Linked DNA regions of Homo sapiens: all the other regions are linked to region 2. The links are contacts of gene promoters, found by promoter capture Hi-C in blood cells and fetal thymus (Javierre and others, 2016). All regions are on one chromosome and are shown on one strand. Each heading gives the region's core, a stretch centred on a gene start or on the middle of the fragment in contact. The rest is flanking DNA. Distances are from core to core; before and after follow the strand shown. Region 1 overlaps FAM76A (family with sequence similarity 76 member A). Region 2 holds the start of EYA3 (EYA transcriptional coactivator and phosphatase 3). Region 3 holds the start of PPP1R8 (protein phosphatase 1 regulatory subunit 8). Region 4 overlaps STX12 (syntaxin 12). Region 5 holds the start of SNHG12 (small nucleolar RNA host gene 12).

The links. Contacts are between HindIII fragments. The CHiCAGO score rates a contact against its expected background, and 5 or more counts as called.
Region 1: a fragment that was not itself captured here is called in contact with the fragment with the promoter of EYA3 in region 2 in 2 of 17 cell types (M2 macrophages and M1 macrophages); the score reaches 5.5 in M2 macrophages.
Region 3: the fragment with the promoter of PPP1R8 here is called in contact with the fragment with the promoter of EYA3 in region 2 in 1 of 17 cell types (M2 macrophages); the score reaches 5.8 in M2 macrophages.
Region 4: a contact is called between a fragment that was not itself captured here and the fragment with the promoter of EYA3 in region 2, in 2 of 17 cell types (M2 macrophages and M1 macrophages). The highest score is 7.5, in M2 macrophages.
Region 5: the fragment with the promoter of SNHG12 here is called in contact with the fragment with the promoter of EYA3 in region 2 in 13 of 17 cell types (fetal thymus, non-activated CD4 T cells, activated CD4 T cells and 10 more); the score reaches 16.2 in fetal thymus.

The regions. Positions count from the first base shown.
Region 1 is chr1:27,760,232-27,764,349 of GRCh38, forward strand. It overlaps FAM76A (family with sequence similarity 76 member A), which reads left to right. Exons shown (of 9, transcript NM_152660.3): 9 at 264-2,885. The coding sequence ends at 350. Among named protein-coding and RNA genes, the nearest start is that of STX12, 11 kb to the right of the region's middle. The HindIII fragment of the contact is 2,005 bases long and covers 436-2,440 here.
Region 2 is chr1:28,087,267-28,091,005 of GRCh38, forward strand. EYA3 (EYA transcriptional coactivator and phosphatase 3) reads right to left here and starts at 1,344. Exons shown (of 18, transcript NM_001990.4): 1 at 1,258-1,344. RefSeq lists enhancers at 944-1,003, 1,214-1,283. The HindIII fragment of the contact is 6,678 bases long and covers 1-1,464 here.
Region 3 is chr1:27,828,725-27,832,557 of GRCh38, forward strand. PPP1R8 (protein phosphatase 1 regulatory subunit 8) reads left to right here and starts at 2,058. Exons shown (of 7, transcript NM_014110.5): 1 at 2,058-2,167. The coding sequence starts at 2,112. LOC124903885 (a long non-coding RNA gene) reads right to left here and starts at 3,059. Exons shown (of 2, transcript XR_007065562.1): 1 at 2,025-3,059; 2 at 1-97. RefSeq lists enhancers at 1,537-2,322, 2,196-2,365, 2,323-3,107 and a silencer at 1,986-2,065. The HindIII fragment of the contact is 9,216 bases long and covers 1-3,833 here.
Region 4 is chr1:27,804,931-27,809,193 of GRCh38, forward strand. All of the region lies in intron 4 of STX12 (syntaxin 12), which reads left to right. Among named protein-coding and RNA genes, the nearest start is that of PPP1R8, 24 kb to the right of the region's middle. RefSeq lists an enhancer at 2,261-2,784. The HindIII fragment of the contact is 1,929 bases long and covers 1,403-3,331 here.
Region 5 is chr1:28,581,605-28,585,776 of GRCh38, forward strand. It overlaps SNHG12 (small nucleolar RNA host gene 12), which reads right to left and starts at 1,379. Exons shown (of 6, transcript NR_146382.1): 1 at 486-1,379. RefSeq lists an enhancer at 1-546. The HindIII fragment of the contact is 3,732 bases long and covers 1-2,122 here.

The DNA.
Region 1 (4,118 bases), core at 188-2,687, 330 kb before region 2:
CACAGTTTGTATTGCATAAAGCATCCCTTTGTAACAGTGGGTCCCAAGAGATTGAGGTACACTGATTAACCTCTGGCAAATACTTTTTTCTCCTGAACCAAGTTTCAAGCCCTAGAGCTTCCTGTTGTTTTCCACCTCTAGAATTGTTCATCTCTTTCTGACCCTCCACATTGTCTGCCTTAGCATCTGCACTTACTCTGCATGAAAAATAGCTTATATCCTGTTTGAAACATCCTTCTTGCACTGATTTTTTTTTTCTTTAGGCCAAAAACCGAGAGCTCCTGAAGCAGGCAGCTGCTTTGTCCAAGAGCAAGAAGTCAGAGAAGTCAGGAGCTATAACCTCTCCATGACAGACCTCAAGGAGGCTCCCTAGCAACAGCAAATGGAGTTGTCCAGGGTTAGGGTTGGAGACCTGGCTGTTCTGTGGGAATTGCAAGCTTTCTTAAGAAATCTCTATTTTATTACAGTTATCCTTCTTTGTGCGATTGCAGTGGGCTGAATGGAAACACCTGGTTTGTGCTGTGTTAGACTGCATGCTTGAGTGTTTGGGATTTCAAGCTCGCTCTCTTTCTCTCACTATTAGGACTTTTCTTTTTCTTCTTCCTCTTCTCTCTATTTTGGTTCTATTCTTTTTTTTTCTTTTTTCTTTTTTTTTTTTTTTTTTTTTTTGTGGTGGTCACTGCTCAGTGTAATGTGCAGAATGATTTGTTTTTTGTTTTTTTTTTTTTTTTTGGTCCTTCATTGCATCCTGCCATACCCATGAGCAAACAGTTTGGCATTAATTATATATCACTGCCACCCTCTGAACTTTGAAAACTGCCATCTTCAGACTTGGTATAATGGAAGAGGCTTTCTCTCTCCAATAAACCTTTTGCTTCAGGGTATACTCTTCGGTTTTTTTCCAGATGTATTATGTATGAACTTTGTACTATGTATAGCCAGAGTTTTATTTATTTTTTAAAAAAGAAACTTTTTCTTGATAAAGGAATAATGGTGGTCTAGCTAGTTCTTGTAAAAGTGATGCCTCTTGAAAAAAAAACAGTCCTATTCACTAGCTTTTAGTAAAAGAATCAGATCTTTTCTTTCTTGTTACCTTGGAGTCTTAAAAACTGATTGCTAAGGTGAAACAATTCAATGCATAAGTATGGAGCTAAGTGCCTTTTGGAGGATTTCTTGGAAGAGCATTTATGGAGATACTTAAGGGAGGTAGCAAAGATTTGAACCGTCTGTCTTTTTAAGTAAGGGCAGAAAGCAAGGTTGTCCAGGTTGTACTGGACACTTCTCTCCCCACCCCTTTCCTGATTGTTTTATGTGATTGATTTTAAATTCTCACACTGCCACTTCTTTAAAAAATAAAATCCTTTATTTGCTTATATCAGTTGTCATACTGGGCTGCTGTCAGAGAATGTTTTTTTACATGAATGAACAGATTAAAAATGGAATAATATGGTCGGGTGCGGTGGCTCACGCCTGTAATACCAGCAATTTGGGAGGCCAAGGCGGGTGGATCATTTGAGGTTAGGAGTTTGAGACCATCCTGGCCAACATGGTAAAACCCCATCTGTACTAAAAAAATACAAAAATTAGCCGGGCCTGGTGGCATGCACCTGTAATCCCAGCTACCCAGGAGGCTGAGGCAGGAGAACTGCTCGAATCCCGGGAGGCAGAGGTTGCAATGAGCTGAAATCGCAACACTGCACTGCAGCCTGGGCAATGGAGTGAGACTCCGTCTCAAAAAAAAAAAAAAAAGGAATAATATTTGAACTACAGAGCATTTTTGGGGTCAGCATGAGCTGCTCTAGTAAGGACTCTTGAGTCTGGGAAAAGTGGTATCACTATACCTTCTCCCCACTCCTCACCCACCCGAGCCCATACACTCCCTGCTTTTCATGGATATGTATTGAAAACAGGTGCTTCTCAGAAGCACTTTGCCTCAACCAGAGTTATGTATGCCCTGCCTATCTTCCCTTCTTAACCCTGTAGGAATATGGATTTACTTTTCCAGGAAAGGGGATAGATTTACATTTCTAGGCATACTCTCAGGTCCTCTATGTGATGTTTGTGAAAGGAATTAGGGTGTGTCATGTGTGCCATGAAACAACAAAACCAACTACCCTAGAATCATTTATGCAGGGGGTACTAGAGTTAGAAATAATAATGAGGGCAGATAACATTTGTACCTCAGTCTACCAAAAAATTATAGTACTAAATTTAACTTCTAGGCGTTTCCTGGAAGCAGATGCTCTATAATTTGTGATAGCATTCTCATAAATGGAGTCCTACACATAATTGGACAGAGATGTGGAAATGGTGGTTTCCTTCTGATAAGGGATACAGTGGACCATGTCGCTTATATATCACCCTACTAGGGGATATAATTTTCCCTTCTAAGCAAGGGAAATGGCAGTGCTAAATAGTTTTGTAAAGTTTTTGAATGAGAAGCTTTTAGGTAAAGATAAACTGTCATAATATTTTTCAGATGCATTTGCATTGACTATGGGAGAAAAATTAGGGGGAAATGACAGTCATGGTGTTTTTTTTTAATTTTAAGGACTGAAATTCTGTTACATGATGTATGACAATATAAAAACATACTTAGTTTTATACTAAATCTTTTTTTAAGGTCTTGGCATTTAATATAAAGCAAATTCACACGTTTTCTAACTTTCCATAAGTTCCAAAAAGGGAAAGAAGAAACCTCAGTCTTGAAATTTTGATTTTTAAAAATCATGACACTGTTTTACCATGAAATTGAGTAGCTAACTTTTGGTAACACCTTTTGTTTCTTTGTATGTTTGTAATAATGGACATTTTAAAACACAGGAATGTTTTGGTTTGTACAGACTTTGACAAATGTGTGTTAATAAAAATTCATATTGACTCAAGTGTAATTGTTGGATTTTGTTTTTATTTCTTGCTGTTTACCAGTAGACATACCCCGTTATCCCCTTCAGCCCTTCAGCCTAGAAAAGTTTGTCTTGCTTATAGACTTAAAAAATTAAAAGCCTAACTGCTAATTGGGAATTTCCTGTCCATTAGAGAATAAACTCTTTCTTTCTCTCTTCTATGACTGTTTTGAGACAGAGTCTCACTCAGTCATCCAGGCTGGAGTACAGTGGCAAGTAGATCACTGCAGCCCCGACTTCCTGGGGATTCTCCCACCTCAGCCTCCCAAGTAGCTGGGACTACAGATGCACGCCACCATACCCAGCTAATTTTTGTATTTTTTGTGAAGATAGGGTTTTGCCATCCAGGCTGGTCTCCAACTCCTGGACTCAAGCCATCCACCCACCTCATCAGCCTCCCAAAGTGCTAGGATTACAGGCATGAGCTACCACACCCAGCCTCTTGGTGATTCTGTTTACCCAGTGTAAGTGCTCATGTTGTGATAGGCACTGTGCTAGGCAGCGCGGTTACAGCAGTGACAAAACCAAGTTATTGTACTTATGGGGCTTCCATTTAGTGGAATATTGGACACCACCACACCACCATTGTTCCTTGATTTAAAAAAAACTTTTTTTTTTTTTAATGGAGTCATGCTCTGTCACCCAGGCTGGAGTGCAGTGGCATGATCTCGGCTCACTGCAACCTCTGCCTTCTGGGATCAAGTGATTCTCCAGCCTCAGCCTCCCAAGTAGCTGGAACTACAGGTGGCGCACCAACACATTCAGCTAATTTTTTTGTATTTTTAGTAGAGACGGGATTTCACCATGGTGGCCAGGCTGGTGTCGAACTCCTGACCTCAGGTAATACGCCCGCCTCAGCCTCCCAAAGTGCTGGGATTACAGGTGTGAGCCACTGTGCCTGGCCAAAAAAAATTTTTTGAGACAGTCTCTGTCACTTAGGCCAGAGTACAGTGGTGCGATCTCAGCTCACTGCCCCTTTGACCTCCCAGGCTCAATTGATCCTTCCACCTCAGCCTTCCAAGTAGTTTGGACTACAGGCATGTACCACCATTCCTGGCTAATTTTGTTTATTTTTTGTAGAGATGAGGTTTCAGTATGTTGCCCAGACTGGTCTTGAACTCCTGGACTCAAGTGATCCTCTCGCCTTGGCCTCCCAAAGAGCTGGGATTACCCAAGTGTGAGCCACCTCACTCAGCCAAATGTTCCTTGATT
Region 2 (3,739 bases), core at 94-2,593:
TCTAGGGAAATTTAAGAAAGGTGCCCTAAATCTCAAAATGAGAAAATGATAGTTTTACTACAAAGGTGGAAATGGTAAGGAAAAAAAAATACAAAAGTTAGAAGAATATTCTAAGTAATGTACTTCTAAGTAATGTAATTCTAAGTAAAGTCTGGCTAATGAAGGAAGAGGAAGACAAATAGAAAACTTAATACAGTAAAAATGAAAAAATGCATATGTGCATACTAAGTTTAAAGATTACTTTGAAATTACTATAGTGAACTCTTCAGCAGACCACTTTTCGGAAACAACACAATAAATTCATAAATCTGGGGCTAATGATCTCTCCACAAATTCTGTCCTCTATCATCACAAGTGTCCTGTAAGAAGCGTCCATGCCGAAAACAGAGCTGAACGTCCCAAAATATTGGCGTTTTTGCCTCAGCTGTGCACATCCATTCTCATGGGAACACAAAACTGACAGAACTTCTTCATGACTTGTCAATTAACAAGATCGCGCCAGCCCAACTGCTAGCAGTACCGTGTGCCTGCCACCTGTTAGCTGCTCTTGAGAGAGCCCCAAAACTGAGGTAAAGCGAAGAACTAGGAACGCCTTTGTTGTACCCTAACTATGGAAGCTACCAGAGTTCAGTCTAACCCGGCGCCTTAAGGCAAAACTTCCCCCAGGCTGGGGAAGTCTTCCCATTTCGGGGCTTTGGCAAAGCTCTCCTCTAGCTAAGGACAGGCAGAAGAACCCCAGGAGAAGCACTGTCACCTACTGGTCCCAGGAGGAAGGATCAAAGCTGAAGAAAGTTGGGGGACAAGGAACTAGGACCCTAGGGAGAGGCTCAGTTTCTCGTGGTGAAGAGTGAGCACAATGAGAAGCTGGGCCGTCTCGCTAGGTGAAAGAACGCTGAGATCCCAGATCAGGGGTAGGGGAAAAGAGGTTCTAAAAGAAGGGAGGAGGAGAAAAAAGGAGAGGCAGTGGCTGAGAGAAGCGCTGAGGCGTAAGGCAAGAAACCGAGGTTGGAAAAGGACTGATGAGGCTGAGGAAAAACAGCGAGGCGACAGAGGCACGGAAGCGCGAGAAGGCTAAGCTGAGGTGAATAAGGCGAGGCCAGCGTGAAGGAAAGGGCTGAGGTGAGTGAAGCACTGCAGTGACAAGGGACAGGCGAAGAGACTCCCACCCACAAGGACCGAGGCAGAACTCTAGACCCATCCCCCTTCACGCTGTGCTCGCCCGGCTGCGCTCAGACCCTGTTGGCAGCTGAGACTCACCCAAAGGCTGTAAAAGCCCCACAACAGGACATGGAGATCAGTCCAGACCCACAGTAGAACCAATCGAGCGGAGGAAACCGCGGCGTTAGCGTGACCCGGATGCGCATCGCTAGGAACCGGAAGTAAGCGGCCAGAGTCACCTCACAATCCACACCTCGTTCCACTAGAAACCTCTGGGCGCATGTGTTGAGTCTGACCGGGCGGGGAAGCTTTTAGGCTCCGCCCACTCCGCCGGCCCGGCGAGCCACGCCCATGGCCACGCCCCTCTTAGTGCCTCGGAGACAAGCAGCTTCTGGGTGAGCGCTAGGCAGTCCTGACGGTACTACAGCCTTCACTTTTAAGGAGGTCTTTAAAAATGCGCGTAATCCCTACCTGGCTAAAAGGAACGTAAGAAGTGTTGGGTGCATTTGGTAGATTTAGAAAAACTGGGAAGGAGAATGAGTGGGAAGTTTTGGAAGACATTTGGGAGGCTAGCCCAAGGTGATCTTTTTTTTTTTTTTTTTTTGAGACGGAGTTTCGCTCTTGTTGCCCAGGCTGGAGTGCAATGGCGCGATCTCGGCTCACTGCAACCTCCGCCTCCCGGGTTCAAGCGATCCTCCTGCCTCAGCCTTTCGAGTAGCTGGGATTACAGGCATGTGCCACCACGCCCGGCTAATTTTGTAGTTTTAGTAGAGACGGGGTTTCTCCATGTTGGTCAGGCTGGTCTTGAACTCCCGACCTCAGGTGATCCGCCCGCCTGGGCCTCCCAAAGTGCTGAGATTACAGGCGTGAGCCACCGCGCCCATCCCTTTTTTTTTTTCTTTTTTTGAGACAGAGTCTTGCTCTGTCGCCCAGGCTGGAGTGCAGTGGCGCGATCTCGGCTCACTGCAACCCCCGCCTCCTGGGTTCAAGTGATCCTCCCACCTCAGCCTCCCGAGTAGCTAAGACTACCGGCGCGCACCACCACGCCCGGCTAATTTTTGTATTTTTCGGTAGAGACGGGGTTTCGCCATGTTGCCCAGGCTGGTCTCCAACTCTGGAGCTCGGTTGATCCCTTGGCCTCCCAAAGTGCTGGGATTACAGGCGTGAGCCCCAAGGTGATCTTTTTATCCCCAAATTTAGTTTATTCTTAATATTATATTAGGCTTACAATTCACTTCGTGCACACTGTTTTCGGAAGCAAAATTCTTAAATGTTTCGTTAATTTTAAATTACAACCCAAGTATGGGCTAGAAGCAAGGTTGAATTCAGGCTTTGTGGAGACTTGACGTTTATTCAATTTGGGGGCCCTCTTTAAAATAATCAAGGCCAGGCACAGTGGCTCATGCCTGAAATCCTAGCACTTTGGGACGCCGAGGTCGACCGGTTGCTTGAGCCCCGGAGTTGGAGATCACCTGGGCAACAAAATTAGACCCTGTCTCTACAAAACAAACAAAGCAAAACAACAACAAAAAAAACCCAGAAAAATTAGCCAGGTGTGGTGGCACGCACCTAACTGAGCCCAGGAGGTAGAGGCTGCGGTGAGTTATGATTATGCCACTGCACTCCAGCCTGGGCAACAGAGCGAGACTGTCTAAAAAAAAAAAAAATCCAAAATTACAAATACAATATTAGATATAAAAGTGAACCTTTTATAATGAGAAAAATTACAAACATTTTTATTAGCTCACAAATACCACGAATAACAAAATCCAGAAAAAAAACTATTTTTTCTACATTTTTTGACTGTATATTTGATCACCTCTTCCGATGACAACAATGTACTAAGCAACATCATTTACTAAGATCCTTAACTCCTCTCTCATATCCCACATGTACTCCATCAGCAAGTTCTGCAAGATTTGCCTTCAAAATCTGTCCAGAACCTGACCATTTACTGCCTCCGTTGGTATAAACCAGTCAGTCAGTGACTGTGAGTGCCCTATTTATACTCTTGCCTTCCCACAATCTTTTTTTTTTTTTTTTTTTCAGACAGAGCCTCCCTCTGTCACCCAGGCTGGAGTGTACTGGCCTGATCTTGGCTCAGTGCAACCTCTGCCTCCTGGGTTCTCCTGCCTCAGCCTCCTGAATAGCTGGGATTACAGGGGCCCGCCAGCACGCGCGGCTAATTGTTATATTTTTAGTAGAGACGGGGTTTTGCCATGTTGGCCAGACTGGTCTTGAACTCCTGGCCTCAAGTGATCCACCCGCCTCAGCCTCCCAAAGTGCTGGGATTACAGGTGTGAGCCTCCACGCCCGGCCCCCACAATCTATTAATATAGTAGCAATGGGCTCCTGTTAAAACCCTAATTAGATCATATCCTTCCTCCAATGCATTCCTATTTCAGAGTAAAAACCAAAATCCTTACATTGGTCTACAGGACCCTCAAGATTTGACACCTCCAGTACAGCTCTGCTCTAACCTCAACTCCTACTCCTTCTGTCATCCTTCCCCTTAAAGCACATTGGCCTCTGCCATTCCTCAAAACTACAGGTAGGCCCAGGGCCTTTGTGCTTTTTAATC
Region 3 (3,833 bases), core at 808-3,307, 260 kb before region 2:
CAACTTGCTGAGCAGTGCCTCTTTCTGGATGAACAGGAACTTAGCAATTGATTTATTTAAAAAAGGAAAAACTGGTCAGATAATCCTCCCAACGCGTCTACAAAAGTGAAAAAGAGGGGCATCAGTTGCATGCTAATAATAAATATAATTATACCAACATCAAAGTGTAAGAGAGAATAGTGACTCATGAGCATGGCCTTCGGCATCATATAGGTTTAGGTTTTTGATCCCACTCCACTTGTTCTAGGGTGAAGCTGGGTAACTCAATCTCTCTAAGCCTCTCCTCTGGAATTATAATAATACCTAACTCAAGAGTATTGTCAGGATTAAGTGAGATGATCCATATAAAATACATACTTGCCCAGGTAACTGCTGAACAGACAATGCCATTAAAACCAGAGGCCCTCCCGTCCAGGAGGGAGGTGGGGGGGGGGTCAGCCCCCGCCCGGCCAGCCGCCCCATCCAGGAGGTGAGGGGCGCCTCTGCCCGGCCGCCCCTACTGGGAAGTGAGGAGCCCCTCTGCCCGGCCACCACCCCATCTGGGAGGTGTACCCAACAGCTCATTGAGAACGGGCCATGATGACAATGGCGGTTTTGTGGAATAGAAAAGGGGGAAAGGTGGGGAAAAGATTGAGAAATCGGATGGTTGCTGTGTCTGTGTACAAAGAAGTAGACATGGGAGACTTTTCATTTTGTTCTGTACTAAGAAAAATTCTTCTGCCTTGGGATCCTGTTGATCTATGACCTTACCCCCAACCCTGTGCTCTCTCCACTCAGGGTTAAATGGATAAAGGGCAGTGCAAGATGTGCTTTGTTAAACAGATGCTTGAAGGCAGCATGCTCATTAAGAGTCATCACCACTCCCTAATCTCAAGTACCCAGGGACACAAACACTGCGGAAGGCCACAGGGTCCTCTGCCTAGGAAAACCAGAGACCTTTGTTCACTTGTTTATCTGCTGACCTTCCCTCCACTATTGTCCTATGACCCTGCCAAATCCCCCTCTGCGAGAAACACCCAAGAATGATCAATAAAAAAATAAAAAATAAAAAACCAGAGGCCCTGCTAATGGTCTCTTAAAACCAGCTGGTGATCTAGGGCAAGCGAGCAATCCTTATGCTTCCTTGCCCTATAACCAAAAGCAAAAAATCCTTTTTAAAAAAATTAACCATTTGAGCCAAGCACAGTGATGATTTGGACCCCTGCTTTCTGACTGGACCTGCTCCTGGCTCCTGCTTGTCCAGAGTTTTCATAAACAGACTAGGTGACCCCTAATGCAGATTCCCTGACAATCTACAGGCCTAAACGTGAATTAGAAAAAAGTGAGTAGGGTGCCACTTTTTGGAGAAGGGCTGAAGAGAAACAATAATCACTCCAATCTCCGAGTTTTGCCCTTTAGCTTCTCCGCTTTGAGGGCAAAAGGCTGACGGTCTTAACCTAAACTCTGGAGGAGGATGTAGTCCCCAGATTTTTTCTTTCTTTACTTTTTTTTTTTTTTTTTTTGAGACGGAGTCTCGCTCTGTTGCCCAGGCTGGAGTGCAATGGCGCGATCTCGGCTCACTGCAACCTCTGCCTCCCGAGTGCAAGCGATTCTCCTGCCTTAGCCTCCCAAGTAGCTGGGATTACAGGCATGTGCCACTACACTCGACTAATTTTTGTATTTTTAGTAGAGACGGGGTTTCACCATGTTGGTCAGGCTGGTCTCAAACTCCCGACCTCAAGTGATCCGCCCGCCTCAGCCTCCGAAAGTGCTGGGATTACAGACGTGAGCCATCGCGCACGGCTTAGTCCCAAGATTTTAGAGCCAAGAAGCGTTTGCAGGAGGACGTAGGGAAAGACTGACTCCCCTCCCTACAAAGCCCCTTTTCCTTTGACACCTCCTGGCCAAGGAAAACCCTAACCACTGGAGACTTCCAGAGACGGCCAACTCGCACAAACGCTGAAAAAAAAAAAATCCCAAAAGCTCCTCTGTCCCCACTAGAAGCACCGCCCCCCGTACGGGCGTGCGTGAGCGTGCGTACGCACAGGCTGCTGGGATGCCGCTTTTCCCTTCTCGGTCTTCCAGTTTCCCGGCGTGCTTAGGGCGCGCCAAATGGGAGGGGGAGACGCAAGATGGCGGCAGCCGCGAACTCCGGCTCTAGCCTCCCGCTGTTCGACTGCCCAACCTGGTGAGTGGCGGGGCGGCCAGGGCTAGAGTGGCCCGGCCGGAGCTAGCCTGGGCTGGAAGGGCGGCTCTTTTTTTACTTTTCTGCTGCGAGCCGAACGGCTCAGAAACCCCGGAATGGTTGAGGAAAAACTGTTTGCTGCACCGGGCCGGGCGACGTGTTGAAGAACCGAGAGCCTGGAGCCCAGGCCCAGGAACTGAAGAAACCCGGGGTTGGGGGCTCAAAGGCGCTCACTTAGGCAGCCCCTTTGAGCGATTAGCCAGTCGCCGGAGCGCTTCGAGGCCTTGGCCCGAACTTACGCCCAACTCTTGACTGAGTGCCTGGTGCTCTCGTGGAGCATCGCATCTGGCCCCTTCCTGTACGTCCCGAGCGCGCTCGAGCCAGCCCCGGCCCCAACCCTACCTCCAAGCCCCGCATCCCTCTGTGGTTGCTGCATCCCTCGTGCGGCACTTGTCTGTCTGCCACAGAGAATACGAGGGTAGGTTAGCGCCATCCCTGCCCTCAGGGAGCTCCCAGTCTGTGGCACTAGTAGGCATTAGTAATGGTTGGCATGAACCCTTTTTATCCCTTCGAAAGTTCTTGGGAATAATGAAATAATTTAATTTGGTCTTTGAGTAGGGTACAAGTTGAATAAATATGAATTACCTTACAAGGAAACGCTTCTGAATTAAGAGTTTTTTTCTGCTGTAGCTCATCGCAGTGTATTGTTTGTTGCTTGTCTCTGTCTCCCGTTGTATTGCCATCCTCAAGGGCAAAGACTGCATCTTTGTATTCCCAGCTCCTAGGCCTGAGTCAGGCACATAGTAGGAATTCAGAAAGTATGTTTTGGATGTAACATTCCTCCTTTTTCCTGGACAAAATGGCCTTTTGTCCGGTGCATTGTCCTTTCCATAGAGGAGGGGTTGGGGCAGGATTGTGAGATGACTGTGTTGAATCTTCAGTTAGCTAGACAAGGATACGTTTTTTCATGTGCAAATCTAAAGGTTCTAGTGAGGTGGTTCTTTTTTCTAACTTCAAATTAGCAAACCCAAAAAGCAAGCAAATGTGTGGCTATTTTCTGGATCGCTTTGCACTTTTGTAGTAGTTGCTTCAGTCTACAAATTCTGTATCCATTTTGATCCCTCGCTGTATTGATTTCAAATTTGGGCCGAGATAGCAAACATAGTTAGAAAGCACTGTTTTTGAGATCACCTACCCTTTCCTTAGGATCTGGTAGGTACCAGGCACCGTTAGGTGCTTTGACATATGAGTCTCCCTTGAATGGTATGGCTGTAGGATATAGAGGAAACGTCCCCTAATCATGCTGTTGTAGAAAGACCTGTTTCAAGGGTAACATATTCATTTGGTACCTGGTTTCATGGGGCATGATTTTGAATTGCCCTAGTTCCCTAATTATGCACCTCTGATTTGGTTTCAGAGCTCAGGACAGTACTCTTTGCTTACTCTGTGATGAGACTAATCTTGATGAGCCCCAAACAGCAACTAATTTATTCGGTCTTTATATGATATTGGAGTAGGGGTGGATTTCAGATTCAAACTCCAGGTGACTAGACCACCCCAGCTATCGTACTTGCACTCTCTATGCAGTTCTTTCTCTGAGGTGAAGATCCAGTGTTAAAATATAGGTTTCTTGGTGCTGCTCTAAATACAGATCTACTAAAATCTGTTG
Region 4 (4,263 bases), core at 1,117-3,616, 280 kb before region 2:
GGCCTCAGGAAACTTACAGTCATGGTAGAAGACACCTCTTCACAGGACCGCAGGAGAGAGAATGAGTGCGGAGAGAAGGGGAAAGCCCCTTATAAAACCATCAGATGTTGTGAGAACTCAGTCACTATCACGAGAACAACAAGGGGAAAACTGTCCCCATGCTTCAGTTTTGTCCATCTGGTCTCGCCCTTGACACGTGGGGATTATTACAATTCAAGGTGAGATTTGGGTGGGGACACAGAGCCAAACCATATCAGACCCCAAAGAAGTTTTGTTTATATGAGTCATATCTATTGATGTATACTGTATTAGAAATTAAAACTGAGAAAAATTTTAGATGTTTGTTTATTCATTTACAAATAATACACTTATTACATATTAACATGAATATAAATTAGATTTTTTATGCACATGGGGAAAGAAGGAATTAAATTAGATTTTTCATTTTAAAAAATTGTGTTTCCAAGAAAAAAAATTAGTGGGCAGAGTAGCATTATTTTCATTTTTGCAAATTTTTTTTATTTTAATGTCTGGCTTACCAGAAGGCAGCTAGATTTTCATAGCTGCTTTTGTTTTTTAACCTCCATACTAAAGATGTAAATGATTTATATAACACCATTACAGTATTAGAATATTCTGAATTTGACTATTTACTTACTTTTACCAGTGAATGTTATACTTTCATATGTTTTCATGTTACTAATTATTATGCTTTTCATTCAGCTTGAAGAACTCCCTTTAGCACTTCTTGTGAGGCAGGTGTAGTGGTGATGAACTCTCTCAGCTTTTTTCGTCTAGGATTATATCTGCTTCTGTATTCAGTCTATTATGATAGATTGTTCTGGTTGAAGTATCTGAAGAAAATCCAAGCTAGCAGAAATATACAATTGGAAAAGGAATATTTTTATAACCTTGTTGATACTCTTCTTTGATACTACATCAAAACTTGACAAAAGTTAGTTGCATTGTACAATCTAAAACCATTATAATGACTTCATACTCTGTTACATTAACATCTGTTGGTCTATATTATACTTTGATTGGATCTTTTATCCATGCATGATTTTTATAGCATCATGTATTTATCATTTGGATAGTATTGGTTCCCTGAGTTATGCAGCTCTTCCAAATGTCGATACATTTCATTTTACAATATAAAAAAATACATATTTCCATCAGTTTCACCAGAAAAGTATTTAAATATTGGGAAACTCTTACAATGGTAGATACAAGTCTTCCGAAATTTTATTTTTATTTTTACTTGAAAGCTACATTTTTGTCATTGGCAACAAACACCCTCTGTTGTTTTCCTTGAAGTGACAGGCTCATACTTCTTTTCAACAAGTTGTCTGCCAAATACCCATCTGAAAAGTTTATATGTATACGTTTATGAAAGTTTTAAAGCTTTTAAATAAGTTTTTAGTAAGTTCTTATAAAACTATATTGAATAAGTAAAAATGGTATTCCCTAAAAAAAGTGGCTAGTTCAGCCTGCAGTTCCATTACACAAGTGCTTTTCCTAGAGACAGACATTGTATTTCTTTATGCAGCAGAAGTACTTTATGTGCACTTCCCATTTCACAATACAGAATAGTAGAAAGATATGTATTGAGGGGTCAAGGTTTAATTAATAATTTGTATGGCTTCAAGAATACATTGGCTTTTAAAATACGGTGAGTGTGTGGTGATGAAGAATACAATAATACTAGTGCAATTCGGTGCCACTGCCTTCAGCCATTTTATCTATCTGTATTAGTCCATTTTCACACTGCTATAAAGATACTACCTGAGACTGGATACTTTATAAATAAAAGAGGTTTAATTGACTCACAGTTCTGCGTGGCTGGATAGGCCTCAGGAAACTTACAACCATGGTAGAAAGCTAAGGGGAGGCAAGGCATGTCTTACATGGTGGCAGGAGAAAGAGAAAGAGAGTGCAGGGGAAATACCAGACACTTACCAAACAACCGGATCTCATGAGAACTCCCTCACTAACACGTGAACACTAACACCCCCATGATCCAATCACTTCCCACCAGGTCCCTCCCTTCGCACGTTGGGATTACAATTCGAGACGAGATTTGAGTGGGGACATAGAGCCAAACCATATCACTACCATTGCCTTTTTTTAATTTTTAATTTTTGTGGGCACATGGTAGGTGTATATATTTATGAGGTACATGAGATACTTTCATATAGTCATGTAATGTGTAATAATTACACCATGGTAAATGGGGTGTCTATCCCCTCAAGCATTTATCCTTTATGTTACAGACAATTCAATTATACTCTTTTAGTTATTTTTGAATATATAATTAAATTATTATTGACGATAGTCACCCATTTGTGCTATCAAATACTAGGTCCTATTCATTCTTCCTATTTTTTGTGCCCATTAACCATCCCCACTTCCCCGCCACCAGTCCCCCACCATTGCTTTTGCTCCGTCCTGTTGATATTTACACTCATGGAGCAAATAAACACGTTAGTATTATTTTGAGTAATGGTCAAACAAATGAAAAGGTACTCAGCTTCTTTAGTAATGGTGAAATTACAGATTAAAATAACAATGAAATACTATTTCATGCCCACCAGGAGGGCAGAAGTTTAAAATTCTGTGAACACTGGGAGTTGTCATTATGGATATGATGCAACAGGAACTTTTTTATCTGGCCGGTGGTATAAGTTAGAACAACTACTTTGGAAAACATTTTGGCTGTATCTTCAGAACACATGCAGACCTTGTGATCCAGCAATTCTACCCTAGAGAAACCTGTATGTGTTATACCAGGATGTATGTACAAGAATGTGCATAGCAGCATTGTTTGTAGTAGTCAAAAATTGGAAACATCCAGATGTCTGTCAACTGTAGAATGGATAAATTGTGTTATGTTCATATACTATAATATCATACAGCAAAGAAAATGATTGAACCACAGTTACATTCAGTATCAGAGATGGATCTGGCATAATCTGGAATGATTCAAAAAAAGCACTAAAGAATATAAACAGTATAATTCCATTTATGTAAAGTTCAAAAACAGGCAAAATGATATTGAATAAGAATATAGCTCACTATTCTTAAAATGCAAGAAAATGATTTTCACAAAGTCAAGATAATAGATACTTTAAAAGGGAGGGATGGAGTTGTGATTGGAGAAGGGCACATGAGTAGGCTTTTAGGACTCTGGCAATGTTATTTCTTGATCTGGGGAAAAAGATAAAGTAAAAAGAAAAAAACAAACCAAAAACCCACAGTGTTCCTCTGAGTGGATAGAAATTTGAAATTCTTTTCATTTTGCTTGTCCTGTATTGCTATTATAAAAAGGGTAAGCTTTTTAAAAATGAAAATACATTGATTTTTACCATTTTTGCTTTGTTTTTTATTTATTTATTTATTTATTTATTTATTTATTTATTTATTTATTCTGAGAGGGAGTCTCACTCTGTCACTCAGGCTGTAGTGCAGTGGCACGATCTTGGCTCACTGCAACCTCTGCCTTCTAGGTTCAAGCAATTCTCCTGCCTTAGCCTCTCGAGTAGCTGGGATTACAGGCACCCACCACCATGCCTGGCTAATTTTTGTATTTTAGTAGAGACGGGGTTTCACCATGTTGGCCAGGCTGGTCACAAACTCCTGACCTCAAAGTGATCTGCCCACCTCGGCCTCTCAAAGTGCTGGGATTGGGATTACAGGCATGAGCCACCGCACCCAGCCTGTTTTTAAATTATAAAAGTAATACATCCATTAGACTGATTTTTTAATAATAATGATATTTATTCTTACAGCTTGATTATAAAGCATACTTTTTCCTCATCAAACAGTAACACCTGAAAGATTCGATTGCTAGTCTTTCACCAAATGCCAAAAATCCTGGTGAATTCTCTTTTAAAGTAGCACTATATGCTTGCCTAACTTTCTTAATTCAATAGTATTAGATAAATTACCATTGGAAAGACTATTTTTCAAAAACGTTATTATATGCCAAAGAGGAGACTATGATAAATCAGAGTTATTGTAAGAATTAAACAAAATAATATACAGAATAATAGTTCCCAATAAGTTCTGTTAAATCAAAATCTGCCACGATTTGAAGCAGCCTTCTTGAAAATAAAGGTTAGTGGGCTGGGCGCTGTGGCTCACGCCTGTAATCCCAACACTTTGGGAGGCCGAGGCAGGCGGATCACGAGGTCAGGAGTTTGAGAGCAGCCTGGCCAATATGGTGAAACCCCGTCTCTACTAAAAATACAAAAATTAGCTGGG
Region 5 (4,172 bases), core at 129-2,628, 490 kb after region 2:
GCAGCGTTGCGCAGTCCGAAGCGAGAGAAGGGCGCGGCCCCCGCGGGCTCCCGCCCCTCTCACTGCCGAGGGGGCCTTTCGGAGCTCGGGCCCACCGGGTTGGAAGGCCCGGCTCCTCCGTGCCACATTCACCACCATCTCGAGGCCGTGGGAGGAAAAACCCGGCGAGTGCGCGCCAGCAGCAGCGACTAGCGGGGAACGGCGCGCAGGAAGGCAGGCAGAGGCTTGCAGCTAGTAAGTCGACACCGGGAATGCGGCGGGGAGAAAGGGCGCTGAAGCCGCGAGCAAGAGCTTATATAGGCCGCCCCTCGCGGCCACACCCGACAGTAGGCCGCCCGCGTGGCGCACAGCTGCCTGGGAGTTGTAGTTTGCTCGCCCCGGCGTTGTCCGCGCGTCACCTCCCCAGCCCTACGCGCGTGTCCATCCCGAGCCCGCGAAGCGAGAACCGCCAGAGGCTTTCCTCCGAGCGGAAGAAGCGCCTTCACCTTTCAGTGCCCGGCGCTGGGCCCACGCAGGAAGCCGACCCGCCTTGGCCTCTGGAGTTGTCTCTGGGATGTCTTTCAGTCTGGAAATGAACCCTGTGTGCTGGGAAAGGGCTCGGGCTCCGCTCCGAGCTCAGTGGGCGTGCGAGCGAGCAGCGCCTGAGTGGGTTTCGGGGAGGGGGTCATACTCCCCGAAAGGCGATTTATTCAAGGCTTGTCTCTTCCACTAATATGTAATTTTACTGAGCGCGTGCTATTTTAACTGTGTCTGATTATCTGATCTAGTTTTCATAAAAACCCTGTGTACGCTCTGTGGACAAATAAGGAAACTTAGGAATGGATCACACAGCTATCGCAAGCGAGGAGAGGACTGGAATTTGGAGCCCACCCCAGGCACCACACATAGCGCAATGTTTTGCCCATGGAATGAATAAGCCTCAGTATGAAAACTTAGTGGTGATTGCCGAGAATTAAACACCCATCCTGTGCCTAATCTATTAATTTTTATTCTTACATACACTTTTTTGTTTGAGACAGGGTCTTGTTCTGTTGCCCAGGCTGGAGTGCAGTGGCGTGATCAAGGCTCATTGCAGCCTCGACCAACTGGGCTCAAGCAATTCTTCCACCTCAGCCTCCCAGGTAGATGGGACTACAGGTGCGGGCCAACTTTCCTTGCTTACACTTTAAAAAGTAGGTACTACTGCCGGGTGCGGTTACTCACGCCTGTAATCCCAGCACTTTGGGAGGCCAAGGCGGGTGGATCACGAGGTCAGGAGATCGAGACCATCCTGGCTAACACGGCGAAACCCGGTCTCTACTAAAAAAAAATACAAAAAAAAATTAGCCGGGCGTGGTCGCGGGCGCCTGTAGTCCCAGCTACCCGGGAGGCTGAGGCAGGAGAATGGCGTGAACCCGGGAGGCGGAGCTTGCAGAGAGCCGAGATCGCGTCACTGCACTCTAGCCTGGGCAACAGAACGAGACTCTGTCTCAAAAAAATAAAATAAAATAAAAAGTAAGTACTACTTTAGCAGGTCGTGGGGGCGCATGCCTGTGGTCCTGGACTCCTCTCTTTCTCTAACATCACATGTCCAAGCCATCAGCAACTCCTGTGTGCTCTACCTTTAAAATGTATCAATAATCTGACTGTTTCTTACCCCTTCCACTGATGTTACCCTAATCGTTGACCCAGATGATAGCAATAGTCTCTTATCTCCCAGATCCTGCTGTTGCTCCCGACAGTCTGGTCTCCACACGCCAGCCAGCCTGCTAAAAGTTTTTTAATTTTTATGAAGTCTAAGAGTCAATTTTTTTTTTTGTAGTTTATGCTTTTTTTTTTTTTTCTTGAGACGGAGCTGCTCTGTCGCCCAGGCTGGAGTGCAGTGGCGCCATCTCAGCTCACTGCAAGCTCCCGCTCCCGGGTTCACGCCATTCTCCTGCCTCAGCCTCCCAAGTAGCTGGGATTACAGGCGCCCGCCACCACGCCCGGCTAATTTTTTGTATTTTTAGTAGAGACAGGGTTTCCCCATGTTGGGCAGGATGGTCTCGATTTCCTGACCTCGTGATCCACCCGCCTCGGCCTCCCAAAGTGCTGGGATTACAGGCACGAGCCACCGCGCCCGGCCGTTTGTTTACGCTTTAAAAGCTTAATAATTATGCTGGGCGCGGTGGCTCCCACCTGTAATTCCAGCACTTTGGGAGTCCGAGGGGGCAGATAACCTGAGGTCAGGATTTCAAGTCCAGCCTAGCCAACATGGTGAAAACCCGTTTCTACTAAAAATACAAAAATTAGCTGGGCGTGGTGGCAGGCGCCTGTAATCCCAGCTACTTGGGAGGCTGAGGCAGGAGAATCGTTTGAACCTGGGAAGCGGAGGTTGAAGTGAGCTAAGATGGAGCCATTACACTCCAGCCTGGGCGACAAGAGCGAGACTCCGTCTCAAAAAAAAAAGAAAAAAAGTAAAATTATTAAACTTTTTTTTTTTTTTTTGGAGATGAAGTCTCGCTTTTTCGCCCAGGCTTGTGCAGTTTATTCTGTGTCAATTATGCCTCAATAAAGCTGTCAAAAAACCATTAAGAAAAAATGTATATCTCCCAGGCGCAGTAGCTCCCACCAATTCGGGAGGCCAAGGCAGGTGGATTACCTGACATCAGGAACTAGAGACCAGCCTGGCCAACATGACAAAACCCCATCTCTACTAAAAATACAAAAAAAAAAAATTACCCAGGCATGGTGACACTCATCTACAGTCCCAGCTACTTGGGAGGCTAAGGCATAAGAATCGCTCGAACCTGGGAGGCAGAGGTTGCAGTGAGCCAAGATCATGCCACTGCACTCCAGCCTGGGTGATACAGCGAGACTCCCTCTCAAAAAATATATCTATATATATCTATCTATATCTATGTGTGTGTATATATAGATAGATAGATATACATATTATATTAAGGCAGATGCAGTGGATCACCTGTAGTCCAGCTACTTGGGAAGCTGAAACAGGAGGATCACTTCTGTCCAGGAGCTGGAGGTCAGCCTGGGCAACAAAGTGAGACCCTGCCTTTAAAAATAAATAAGGCCAGGCACAGTAACTCATGCCTGTAATCCCAGCACTTTGGGAGGCCAAGGCGGGTGGGTCACGAGATCAGGAGTTCAAGACCAGCCTGGCCAAGATGGTGAAACCCCGTCTCTACTAAAAATATAAAAAATTAACCAGACATGGTGGCGGGCGCCTATAATCCCAGCTACTCGGGAGGCTGAGGCAGAGGTTGCAGTGAACCGAGATCGTGCCACTGCATTCCAGTCTGGGCAACAGATCAATATTCCATCTCAAAAGTAATAATAAAATAAAAGTAAATAAATAAGTAACATGTATTTTTTAAAACTTTTTTTTTTTGAGACGGAGTTTCCCTCTTGTTGCCAGGCTGGAGTGCAATGGCACGATCTCGGCTCACTGCAACCTGTACCTCCCAGGTTCAAGTGATTCTCCTGCCTCAGCCTCCTGAGTAGCTGGGATTACAGCACCTGCCCCAGGCCCGGCTAATTTTTTGTATTTTTAGTAGAGACGGGGCTTCTCCATGTTGGTCAGGCTGGTCTTGAACTCCCGACCCCAGGTGACCTACCTGCTTGGCCTCCCAAAGTGCTGGGATTACAGGCATGAGCCAGGCCTAAAAAACATTTATATCATGTTATTCACTTGCTCAGAAATCTCCCATGACTTCCCAACACACTTAGAATAAAAACGGCAATCTCCATAATGGTCTCCAAGGTCATACGTGATCAGGCTCCTCCTCCTTCCTGCCCTCATCACGCACCACTTGCTCCCTCACTCAGTCAGCTCCATCTTCCTGGACTCTTTGCTCTTCTTGAAGCACCCCAGGGCCTTTGCTCTTGCCTGGAACTCGCCCCACCTGAATATCACAGACAATCACACTTCTTAAGCCTCACTTCCCCTGGGTTTCTGTCCACACGTCACCTCCTCAGGCCATCCTATTTTGATACAGCACCCCTCCATCCTCCAACCTTCAAGTCACTGCCTCCTTGATTGTTATTTACAGCACTTAGTGCTTCCTGACATGGTATTATATATGTATTTTGTTTTCTGTTTTCCCTATTAGAATGTGAGCATCCCAAGAGAGCTGGAATTTTGTCTTTTTTCCCCCCTACTGCTGTATAAATGCCTGGTACATAAAAGATGGCCA